2 separate regions of the Homo sapiens genome follow, and region 2 is linked to region 1. The links are contacts of gene promoters, found by promoter capture Hi-C in blood cells and fetal thymus (Javierre and others, 2016). All regions are on one chromosome and are shown on one strand. Each heading gives the region's core, a stretch centred on a gene start or on the middle of the fragment in contact. The rest is flanking DNA. Distances are from core to core; before and after follow the strand shown.

Region 1 (6,326 bases), core at 3,613-6,112:
GACAGGGTTTCACCGCGATAGCCAATATGGTCTCGATCTCCTGACCTCATGATCCACCTGCCTCGGCCTCCCAAAGTGCTGGGATTACAGGCGTGAGCCACCGCACCTGGCCTTGTTTTTATTTTTAATAGAGGTGGGGTTTCACTATGTTATCCAGGCTGGTCTCAAACTCCTAGGCTCAAGTGATCCACCTGCCTTGGCCTCCCAAAGTGCTGGGATTACAGGCATGAGCTACTGCACCCAGCCTCTTCTTCTATTTATCTTGGTACTGGAGGTTCTAGCCAATATGATCAGGTAACAAAAAGAAATAAAAGGCATCCAGATTGAAGAGGATAATATAAATCTAACTGTATTTTATTTTATTTTATTTTTTTTGAGACAGAGTCTCGCTCTGTTGCCCAGGCTGGAGTGCAGTGGTGCGATCTCGGCTCACTGCAAGCTCTGCCTCCTGGGTTCACGCCATTCTCCTGCCTCAGCCTCCTGAGTAGCTGGGACTACAGGTGCCCACCACCACACCTGGATAATTTTTTGTATTTTTTTTAGTAGAGACGGGGTTTCACTGCGTTGGCCAGGATGGTCTCCAACTCCTGACCTCGTGATCCGCCCGCCTCAGCCTCCCAAGGTGCTGGGATTACAGGCATGAGCCACCACACCTGGCCTCATTTTATTTGTTTTTTAATCTGTATTTTAAAATGACAGTCTTGGCTGGTCACAGTGGCTCACGCCTGTAATCCCAGCACTTTGGGAGGCCGAGGCGGGTGGATCACGAGGTCAGGAGATTGAGACCATCCTGGCTAACACAGTGAAACCCTGTCTCTACTAAAAATACAAAAAATTAGCTGGGCATGGTGGCGAGTGCCTGTAGTCCCAGCTACTCAGGAGGCTGAGGCAGGAGACTGGCATGAGCCCAGGAGGCGGAGCTTGCAGTCAGCCCAGATCGTGCCACTGCACTCCAGCCTGGGCAACAGAGCGAGACTCCATCTCAAAAAAAAAAAAAAAAAAAATGACAGTCTTATATGCAGGAAATCCTAAGGAATTCACCTAATAAACAAGTTCTGCAATACAATATCAACAATATGCAAAAATCAACTGCATTTCTCTATAGTAGAAGTGAATAATTCAAAAAGGAAACTAAGAAAACAATTTGTTTACAATAGCATTATAAAGAATAAAATATTTAAGAGTAAAAGAAGTGCAAAATGTATACTCTGAAAATGAGAAAGCAATTGAAGCTGCCTAAATAAATGAAAAGTTATCCCATGTTCATGGATTGGAAGGTTTAATACTGTTAACATGACAAAAACCACACAAACTGATTCACAGATTCAAGGCAATCGTTATCAAAATCTCAGCTGGCTTTCTTAAAGAAATTGACAAGTTGATCCTAAAATTCACATGAAAATGTAAGGGATCCAGAATAGCCAAGACACTCTTGAAAAAAAAAAAAGTTGTAAGACTCACACTTCCTTGTTTTAAAAGTTACTAAAAAACTACAGTAATGAAGACACTGTGATTATTGTCAAAGGATAGACAAATCAATCAATAGAATAGAATTTAAAATCCAGGAATAAACCCTTAAATTTTGGTCATTTGATTTTTGACAATTGTGCAAACAATTAAATGGGAGAAAAATAGTCTTTTCAACAAATGATGGTGGGATAACTGAATATCCACATGCAAAGAAATCAATTTGGACCACTTACATTAGACACAAAAATTAACCCAAAATGGATCATAAGCTAAAAAGTAAGAGTTTAAACTATAAAACTTCTAGAAGGAAATATAGGTGTAAATCTTCATGATCTTAGATTACACAAAGCCCTCTTAGACATGACACTAAAAACATATATAACATATAGTCTGGCACACAGTAAAACAAACAAAAACCATACGTGACAACAACAAAATAAATTAGACCTCGTGAAAATTAAAAATTTTTATGCTGCAAATAATACCATCAAAAATATGAAAAGATTAAAAAAATGAAAAGATAATGCACAGAGTGGGAGAAAATATTTGCAAATAATCTAATAAGAGATGTATTTCCAGAATATATAAAGAGCTCTGGCCAGGCATGGTGGCTCACACCTATAATCTTAGCACTTTGGGAAGTCAAGGTGGGAAGATCACTTGAGCCCAGGAGTTGAAGATCAGCCTTGACATTATAGGAAGACCTAGTCTCTACAAAAACGAGAAAAACAAATTAGCTGGGTGTGGTGGCATATGCCTATGGGCCTAGCTACTCAGTAGGCTGAAGTGGAAGGATCGCTTGAGCCCAGGAGTTGGAGAGCTGTGATCATGCCATGCACTCCAGTCTGTGCAACAGAGCAAGATCTTGTCTTGAAGAAAAAAAAAAGAAAAGAGAGAACTCTTACAACTCAATGAAAAAAGACAACCCAATTTAAAAATGATTAAAGGATCTGAATAGATAGTTCTCCAAGAAGATATATAAATGGCCAATAAAAACACGAAAACATACCCAACATCATTAGTCATTAGGGAGATGTACATCAAAACTGTAATGAGATACCACTTCACAACCACTAGGATGGTTATGATAAAGAAGATGGGAAAAAAACCAAGTATTGGCAAGGACATTAAAAAAAACTGAAACCTTCACTGGGTATGGTGGCTTACACCTGTAATCTCAGCACTTTGGGAGGCTGAGGCAGGCAGATGGCTTCAGTCCAGGAGATTGAGACCAGCCTGGACAACATGGCAAAACCCCGGCGCTACAAAAAACACAAAATTTAGCAGGGTGTGGTGGCACATGCCTGTAGTCCCAGCTACTAGCGATGTTCAGAATAGAAAAACTCATAGCAACAGAAAATATATTATTGGTTGCCAGAGGTTGAGGAGAGTGGGGAGTAACTGCTAATGGATATGCAGTTACTTTCAGGGTGCTGAAAATACTCTGGATTTAGGTAGAGGTGATGGTTGCAAAACTTTGTGAAGATACTTAAAACTATCAAATTTTACACTTTAAATGAGTAAGTTGTATGGCATGTGAATTATCTTTTTTTAAAAAAATGAGACGGGATCTCACTGTGCATTGTGTTGCCCAGGGACGGAGTCTCGCTGGAGTGCAGTGGTGCAGTCTCAGAGGCTCACAGCAACCTCTGCCTCCTGGGTTTAAGCGATTCTCGTGCCTCAGCCTCCGGAGTAGCTGGGATTACAGGTGCCCGTATATTTTATAATATATTCCATAATTAATCGCTCCGTATTAAACTTGCTGATGCAGGTCTCCAATTACTGAAAAACCTGATACCAAGTTTTTCAATGGGATTTTTTTGTTTGTTTAAGAGATGGGGTCTCACCATGTTGCTCAGGCTGGCCTTGAACTCCTGGGCTCAAGTGATCCTCCAGCCTCAGCCTCTCAAAGGCTGGGACTACAGGCATGTAGCACTTTGCCTGACTCAAGGGGAATTTTTAGTAAGAGTATATAATCCAAGTCTGTAGCAGTTGGAGGATGTCGTACCACGCTGAAGTGTCACACATAACTGATGACTCAGTCCCCCAAGCCTATTTTATCATCGTAAAGAAAGCTATTTCTTTGATTATTCCAACTCTTTCAGCACCAGGACTGCTGCAGGGGCTGGATTCATGCTACCTGTAGTTGCAGTGTAAATTATGTGTCAGAGCCAAGATCCTAGGAAAGTCAAAGACTAGGTTACAAGAGCGATTCTTTTTTTTTTTTTTTTTTTTTTTTTTTGAGACAGAGTCTTGCTCTGTCGCCCAGGCTGGAGTGCAGTGGCACAGTCTTGGCTCACTGCAACCTCCGCCTCCCTGGTTCACGCCATTCTCCTGCCTTAGCCTCCCGAGTAGCTGGGACTACAGGCGCCCGCCACCACGCCCGGCTAATTTTTTGTGTTTTTAGTAGAGACGGGGTTTCACCGTGTTAGCCAGGATGGTCTCGATCTCCTGACCTTGTGATCCGCCCGCCTCGGCCTCCCAAAGTGCTGGGATTACAGGCTTGAGCCACCGCGCCCGGCCAAGGACGATTCTTTCTAATCTTTGGTAAGCCAGTTTTTACAGAATGAAATGCTCTTGGATTGACTGACTTGATTGGGTAAGTATTCATTGGGCTCTTGTTCCATGCAAGGGCAGTCTACAAGGGCCTAGATATGGGGGCCCCCAAAGAAGAAAAATCGGTTTTTCATCATATTTTCTGGTTGAGTTTCTTCCTTTATTATATTTGTTACATATGTTATTAAATTATTTCCATAAAAGAGGTTATGCTGAGCAGGTAACCAAATTCTTGTTCCCCCAAAAGACATGTATAATTCAGACGATTTATGCAATTAGAAGAAGGGAGACTTCATCAGTTAATAAAGTCTAGAACGTGAGGAAGCCCAGTCATTTCCAGGACCTTCAGATGCCCAAGCTGGATCCAGGTTTTCCACCCCGACAGCTCCAGGGAGCACGCTGGAGAGACAGACTTCACCAGCGGGAAGGCGCGGCACCCTACGCGCAAGGAACCTCAAGTCCCAGAATCCTATGAGGACTCCAAATCCCAGAAACCTGCACGCAAATCTATCCCGGGTGCCAAGTCGGCCGACCGCAGACGTGACCAAGTTGCGAGGCTAGGGTGAGGTGTCGTAGAATTTGTCCCTACCATTGTCCCTGCAGGGAAGAGACTTTAGTGATCTAGAGCTGGTCATTGTCTCTTTCACAGCTCGCGTGAAAGCACCCCTCTCGGCGTGTTTGATGCCATGATCAGCGTCTCCCATTCCCTCTGTCCCCTTTCTCTGCCCCCGTAAGGATGGTTCAGCCCGGTATTGAGGCTCCTTGAGCTGGCTGGATGGTTGCGCCCGCCCTACCCCGGAATGTGGGCCTTTGGAGCGAGCGAAGTGGGAGGGACCGACGCAGGAGGTGTCTTGGGCCCGGGCGGCTGTAGAGGCGGCGGCGCCTACGGGCAGTGGGAGGAGCCGCGCGGTTCCGGCTGCTCCGGCGAGGCGACCCTTGGGTCGGCGCTGCGGGCGAGGTGGGCAGGTAGGTGGGCGGACGGCCGCGGTTCTCCGGCAAGCGCAGGCGGCGGAGTCCCCCACGGCGCCCGAAGCGCCCCCCCGCACCCCCGGCCTCCAGCGTTGAGGCGGGGGAGTGAGGAGATGCCGACCCAGAGGGACAGCAGCACCATGTCCCACACGGTCGCAGGCGGCGGCAGCGGGGACCATTCCCACCAGGTCCGGGTGAAAGCCTACTACCGCGGGTGAGTGTCCTGGGACAGGGCGGTGGGCGGGAGGGGACAGGCCGGCTCCACTCGGCCTGGAGGAGGGGAGGGTGAGGGGCTGGAGGTGTTGTGGGCGGATTGGGCTGGGCGGGCGGGCGGCTCCGGTGACTCAGGGTGAGTGACGAAGTGATAGGGGTGGGGGCGAAGCAAGGGGATGCAGTACTGGGGGCGCCCCCAGGTATGGCGGTGCGGGGAGCCGAGGGGCCAGAGTAGGGTCCGAGAAGGAAGCTAGGGTTAGAGTAGGTGCACCTGGTGTGGACGAGAGACTCGCCTCCTGAGAGCTTTGTAGGGGCCTTGCATCCTTAAGTCTGGGTGTATTTGGGGTTGCGAGTTGAGGATTCCAAGTGATGCCTTAGTTAACTCAGTTTGCTGTGGGGATAGAAAACGGGACTTCTTCAGTTAGCTGTCCGTTTTGATTACCAGCAGGCCTAACGCCTCTGGTTCTCTGAGATATACCTCCATCCCCGTTGTGTTCACGTAGTGTATCTGCACTGCCAGTATATTAGACATAGGGGTTGTATTTAAGAATCAAGTCGATGCGTTTTCAGGGACGTGCAGTGGGTACTTACGTGTCGTCAAGATTAAGTTGCATGTGTGTAAATCAAAATTTTGTGAGCCTTTCTTTCTCAGTGTTGTTTCAACGACTACCCGATAGGGTGAGATACTGCAAGGTGAGGAGACTAGCCTAGTTACAGTTTTAAATTCTCTGATCTTCACTCCCTTACTATGGTTACAAGAAAAAACCCAGTTCTAAGTTCATTGTGTTAAATCATTTTCTATCAGTGACGCAAAGTGCCCCCCTTCCTTTAAATTCAGTTGTGGTTTGAATTTTTTTTTGAGATAATTATGTTTAGGAGCATTAGAAACGTGAAATGTTAGTGTGACCATAAAGGTTGGAGACTGAGAAGTCACAGAAAACCCAGCTACTTTGGCTTGCCTTACTGCTTGTCCAGGTAGAAGTAAATTGCTTTAAAAAACTCAAGCAGTGCTAGGTTGAAATTTTAATGCATACTTTTACATTCCTGAGAGGATCAGTGAAGATAGCAAACTCTCAAACTACCTCTCTTGTTTTGATTTCAAAGAAAATCTGAGCCCC
Region 2 (6,319 bases), core at 1,012-3,511, 460 kb before region 1:
TGGGAGGCTGAGGCAGGAGAATCACTTGAACCTGGGAGGTGGAGGTTGCAGTAAGCCAAAATCACACCATTGCACTCCAGCCTGGGCAACAGAACAAGACTCTCTCTCCAAAAAAAAAAAAAAAAAAAAAAAAAGATAGTGAACTAGATTAAGGTAGTAGAAATGAAGCCAAAGTGGGAGGATCACTTGAGGCCAAGAGTTCAAGACCAGCCTGGGCAATATAGCAAGCTCCTGACTCTCAAAAAAATTATTTTAAAAATTAGGCTGGCGGTGCACATCTGTAGTCCCTCTATTTCTCACCTTTTTTTATGATATTGTCACATTAATTTTGTAACTGAAAAAATTAGAAAGCATTATTAATTAGATTACTTAGCATTTGCCTCTGTGCTAACTCCTGGGCTCAAGTGACCCTCGCACCTCAGCCTCAGGGCTGCAGTGAGCTATGTCACACCACTGCACTCCAGCCTGGGAAACAGAGCAAGACCCAATCTCAAAAAAAAAAAAAATAGACCAGAGGACACGGCAGGGTGCGGGGAAAATGAGACATCAGCAGTGGTGCCCAGAAGACTGGTTTTAGCTCCTGGGTGTAGCAGTAGCATTTACGGGAAGGGGAAAGGGAAGAAAAAATAGATTTGGGGGATAAAATGATGAATTTAGTAAATTTAAATAACATGAGACTGCACCATATAATTTGCTTATAGAATCTCTCTCTCCAGGAAGACCTTTAAAGATGAGGAATATATGTTTCACCTTTGAAGTCTCAACACCCTGAACAATACAACATGTTGCAGACTAGGTATTTAGTGTTTGTTAAATGAACATCACAACTTTGCAAGTGGTTCATTCATTCCAGTATAATAAGATTCCAGTTATTGTGAAAAGCCATTTAAACTGTTTTCCTTACCAAGGAAAAGTTGATAGATGAGTAATTATTCTTTAACTTAAAAAGAGAATGAAAAAGTATGTGATTTTTTTAAAATTATTTTTTGTTTGTTTAGTTTTCTGTAAAGTAAAATAGCAGTTAAAAGCTAAAATGCGTGTATTTACATTCTTAGGCCTGCTACTGACCTTCTTCAAGTGATTTTACCTCCCAACGTTTCAGTTTCTCCATTTGCAGAAGGGAGATAATGGTGGTTGCCTTATCTCACAAGGATGTCATGAAAATAAGTCAGATAAATTGCTTTGCCCTCCTTGGAGAGGGGCTCTAGAAAGTAAGCATTATTAGATATGATGATGAATACCCACAACTTCAAAGATATTTTTAAATTGCCCCCCCTCCGCCCCCAAGTCTTTGAACATGTTAAGCCTATGAATAGCACTGGGGTAGGTGTTTATATATTTCTGGCAAGCTTTCACCTCTTGTTAAAGCAGTAAATGGTCTTTGAACAAACGTATTTCTCATTCTTTGATAACTATGCTTCCTTGTTTGTACACTTGAAAGATGATTATAATCTGGCATATGAGGTCAAGTTGAACTCCTTGGTGCCATTACAGTTCAAATGTAGCTTTAATTGAGTTTTTCTTCCAAGGTTGAAAATAAGTCACCCAGTTCACTTTAGCAAACTACTCGCATTTTTTAAAAAGATTGTGGGGAATGTAACTGTTTTTGCAACTGATATGTATAATGTTTTTCATTTTAGTTATAATATCCTCATTGATCATACAAAAAAGTCAGTATTTGTATTTCTTCATTATTGCATTTTTCTGTTTTCCTTAAATTGTTTTTAATAACTATAATTATGCCTTTTAACACTTATATAGACAGCCATAGTACACACATAAATATCACCAAAGTGAAAACCTAGAGCCCCAAGACAAAAAAAAAAAAAAAAATGATAGTCAAACATCATCTAGAGAAAGATTCTAGCTGCAGGTGTGCATCAAGTTCATAATTGGTGTTATTTTAAAAATTCACAAACCATTAGCACTTCCACCCTTCTCCATATATCTCTTAACTATATACCCAAGTCAAAACCACTTCCTGCCAGAGTAACTACAACATACCCATCAGAGCGCTGTAAAATCATTACTTGCAAAGTAAAGAGTAAGACAGACTTCTCCTCTCATTAATAATACCAGTTGCTGTCATATATATTACTCATATATTCTCCCCACAACCACCCTTCAAGGGAAGTCTTAGTACATCCGGTTGACACATGTGGAATGTAAAGTTGGGTGACTTATGCTAGATTCCCTCAGCTAGGTTAGAACAGGGTAAAAGTACAGGACCACAATAATATCCTTATTTCAATGTCTTCCTGTTTCCTTTTTATATCAAGGAAGAAATGAGAATTTGAGGCAACACAAATGAAGACCATATATACTTTGATACCTACCTAGGAGGGGAGATACAAACCAGAGTAAAGGAAAAATATGGGAAAAGTTGCCTCATTTCCACCTAGTGATGGTGGAACCCTTGGAACCCTCTTCACATCCCATAACGACTGACAGAATGGACACTGAAAAACAGGCCCACCCCTCAGGCAGAACCACTGGAAGAAATACCCTAACCCCTATACGTGAAGGATTAGCACTACTATTTTCAGAATATTATTAAAATTTAATTTTGAAACTTCTCTTTAGTGATATTCCCAGAAACCTATAACAGATACCACCAGTGTAAACTCCTCTCAAATACATTTATTTTGGGTAGGCCTCAAACTGGTAGGATGGTCCAAACCCTCACCCTTCTAGAGAAAGCACTCAGGAATGCTTAAATTTGCCTAGGCCAAAGGTCGCAAATTAATAGCCTATAATAGACCAGATTTTATCTCAAAACGTTTTTTTATTGGTGCATTGCAATGACTTCAGCTATCAACAACCTAAGCTAGGAGGTCCCCAGGCCATCCTTACATCTGACAAGCTGCCTACAAATTTAGGGGTTCCCACTACCCCTTCAAGTTTCATAATTCAGTAGAATGACTTAGAGAACTCAGGAAAGTGTTATTTCGGTTTTATTACAGTTTTATCATAGCAAAAGGATGTTTATTATAGTTATTATTATGGTTTTATTATAGCAAAAGGATTCAAATCAAAACCAGCCAAAGGGAGAGACACATAGAGTGAGGTCTGGGAGGGTCCCAGAAAGAAGGTTCCATTGTCCCTCTCCTCATGTCCTCAGGGACACATTTTCCTCCTAGCACACTGAGTACTGCCAACCACGGACGTTCATCCAAGCTTCAGTGTGTCCAGAGTTTTTATTGGGGCTTCATTACAGGCATGATTGGATGAATCACTAGTCATAAGGCTCAGACATGTGGCTCCAAGTCTCTCAAGAGGTCGGGCTAGTATCATGGGGCCCAAAGCCCCAACACTCTAATCACATGGCTGACCAACCCCCAGTCATGAGTCATCTCGTTAGTGTAAACTATTGGGTCTAGTCCAAGAGGCCTACCAAGAAAAGACACTCCCACCATTCTTGGTGAATTCCAAGGGTTTAGAGGCTACTTCCCAGGGTTCAGGAACAAAAGCCATCCAAATTCTTTACCATGCACTTATATAATATTTAAATTTTATTTCAATTTAGCTACCAACATTCTATAATCAGTGGTGTTGACATAAAAATCTGAATTTTTGTCTTCTCTTGCAATACTGACAATTTTAGGCTCAATTTCTGTAAGATTGCTGCCTCCTTAAAAAGGGAAGCTCATTCTCCCTACCATCTCTATAGTCTCCATTTTCTTATTCCCAGTGTGATTCACTTCTTTGTTTCCTTTCTGTCCACTGCAGACATTTAAATTTGCATATCCTGGGCTAATTCTTGGGTATTTTCGCTGTTTTTACTTCCATCACATATTATTACCTTAAAAGAATGAACATGAAGGAATGACAGTTACCTTTTGTCACTTCATTCTCATCTTATTTAAAACCACTCCTCCCTTACACTTTGTATGACGGTGGGTGCATGTGTACACACGCTTGTGCCTGTGCCATCTATTTGTCTCTTAAGTCTCGAGCCAGGCTAACATGGAATTTTTGACTGCAGAACCAGGACAAGCTGAATTAAAACTCAATGTCATCCTCAGAGTCAAAACCCATAACCAACTCCAGACCTTACAAAGGAAGCCCCTCATTCTGAAGGACAAAAGAAAAAGCATGTTTCTCAGTATTTTTAAAGCTAATGCTTCCTTCATACGCATAAAATTCTCACATCCTTCATGTGAAATACAACCTAAGTAACAAAATAAAGAGAACAAGTATCGTCATTTGCAAACTTCATATACCCTTTCTCTCACTATACCCCTTTGAGAATCACTGGTTTAAATAATATAAAAGGCATGAAACAAGCCCTAAGTACCTCAGGAACCATGTGGACATCTGTAGTCTCTCTCAGATACAGCTGTCACATAGACCTTGAAGTACAGTCAACCCTCAATATTCATAGATTCTGTATTTGTGGATTCACCTAGTCACCGAAATTGTTTATAATCTCAAAAGCAATACCTGCAGTGCTTTCATAGTCATTCATGGGCATGTGCAGAGCCCTGAAAAGTTTGATTTCCCCAACACATAGGTTCTCTTTTGCCTTTGTAGTCCAAAAAGGACACTATAAACAAGTGTCCTATTTCTGGTCTATTTAATGGCAAGTTTTTCACATTTGTATGCTTTTAGTTGGTGACTGTGCTGTTTAAAATGACCCCCAATCATAGTGCTTAAGTGCTGTCTAGCGTTCCTAAGCACAAGAAAGCTGTGATGTGTCTTACAGAAAAAAAATACTTGTGTTAGCCTTCATTCAGGCTTAAGTGATAGTGTTGTTGAATATGAGTTCAGTGCTAATGAATCAACAACATACTTTAGGATGTCTTTAACAGAAACACACACAAGATTATGTATCGATTCTTTGACAAAAATGTTGTGACCGAATGTTCCCAGGAACCTAATCCCGTAATTCCTCTGGGAGCAATGGTTCAGTATTCACTAATCCAGTGTTCACAGAGGCTTCACAGAATGTAACTACTGCAAATAACTAGAATCAACTGTACTTGTAAAAAAGTGAAACACACACAGCACAAAATCACATCGAAGAGTATTAGGGCGGGAGTGGATGTGGGGTGGAAACCAAGGTTACAACCATTAAGGAGGTTATTTTATTTTAAACCAGAAAGTGACGATGGAGTTAATGCTAACCATCTGCCCCAGGTTAACCAACAAAGACTTAGGGTGCAATACAGTGAACAGAACACTGGACTAGAACTTGGGAAGCCTAGCTTCTGGTCACAACTCTGCAAAAAAATTAACTTAGGCAAGTAAATAACTTAGGCAAGTAACTAAAACCCCTCTCCGCAGCAGTTTCTTCATCTGCTAGAGTCACTCAAATCGGTGGCAGTAAGAAGTCACTTTTGCAATAATTATTATGTACAGAAAGTTTTCACATAAATTATCTCACTGGATGACCTGTATGGTCATCCAGGATGACTGGCCGTCTTTACTCTAGAATTATATAACTTAATCATTTTACCAAAAAGAAACAATATATTTAATGTTTATAATACTAAGAATTGTCCTTTGGACTGTTTGTAATAGACATGTCAGAGGGACGACTTCAAATATGAGCTAGAAAACAACTATGGACTTATTTTTAAATTGAATGTATTAAATCACTGTTTTCTTTTTAAAAATGAAAGAAAAACATTCCCAGTCTGTGGCCATTCTTGCTTCACGGCCCTGCACCACCACAAATGTTGTAAATGTGGAGAAGCAAAAGTACCACTAGATGGAGTAAGAACAAAAGACATGCACTTGTCTGTAGTTCAAGGAGTCCCCGCCCTTGCAAAAGGGATCTTAGTCCCCGCACGGTGGCTCACGCCTGTAATCCCAGCACTTTGGGAGGCAGAAGCGGGCGGATCACCTGAGGTCAGGAGTTCGAGGCCAGCCTGCCCAACTTTACTGAAAATACAAAAAAATCAGCCGGGTATGGTGGTGTGTGCCTGTAAACCCAGCTACTTGGGAGGCTGAGAGAAAATCGCTAGAAACCGAGGAGGCAGAGGTTGCAGTGAGCCAAGATGGGGACACTGCACTCCAGCTCTGGGTGACAGAGTGGGACTCCGTCTCAAAAGAAAGAGAAGAAAAAGCGATCTTAGATCACCTTGAGTAAACTGAGGCTTACTGAAGCTGAGCTACTTCCTCAAGACTCTAGACAAGTTCTTGGCAAAATCATTCCTTACTTTTCCACAAAACCATGCTGATAGGAAAAATATTTTTCCTTATTTAGAGAACATTACCAGCAACAGTGGACTCTAGAGGTTTTTTTACATTTCTTAATTCTAATAGTGCTAAGAAATGTATCTGCTAGACAATTCCAGGGGACCTACTTAGGTAA

Evidence for each region. The method cuts DNA at HindIII sites, captures the fragments that hold promoters and counts their contacts. A CHiCAGO score of 5 or more calls a contact.
Region 2: a contact is called between a fragment that was not itself captured here and the fragment with the promoter of PRKCI in region 1, in 3 of 17 cell types (non-activated CD4 T cells, total CD8 T cells and naive CD8 T cells). The highest score is 6.2, in non-activated CD4 T cells.

Annotation. Positions count from the first base shown.
Region 1 is chr3:170,217,562-170,223,887 of GRCh38, forward strand. PRKCI (protein kinase C iota) reads left to right here and starts at 4,863. Exons shown (of 18, transcript NM_002740.6): 1 at 4,863-5,209. The coding sequence starts at 5,109. RefSeq lists enhancers at 4,394-4,453, 4,524-4,583, 4,594-4,753 and a silencer at 4,934-5,223. The HindIII fragment of the contact is 16,903 bases long and covers 1-6,326 here.
Region 2 is chr3:169,757,388-169,763,706 of GRCh38, forward strand. No RefSeq gene overlaps it. Among named protein-coding and RNA genes, the nearest start is that of ACTRT3, 9.0 kb to the right of the region's middle. The HindIII fragment of the contact is 1,828 bases long and covers 1,348-3,175 here.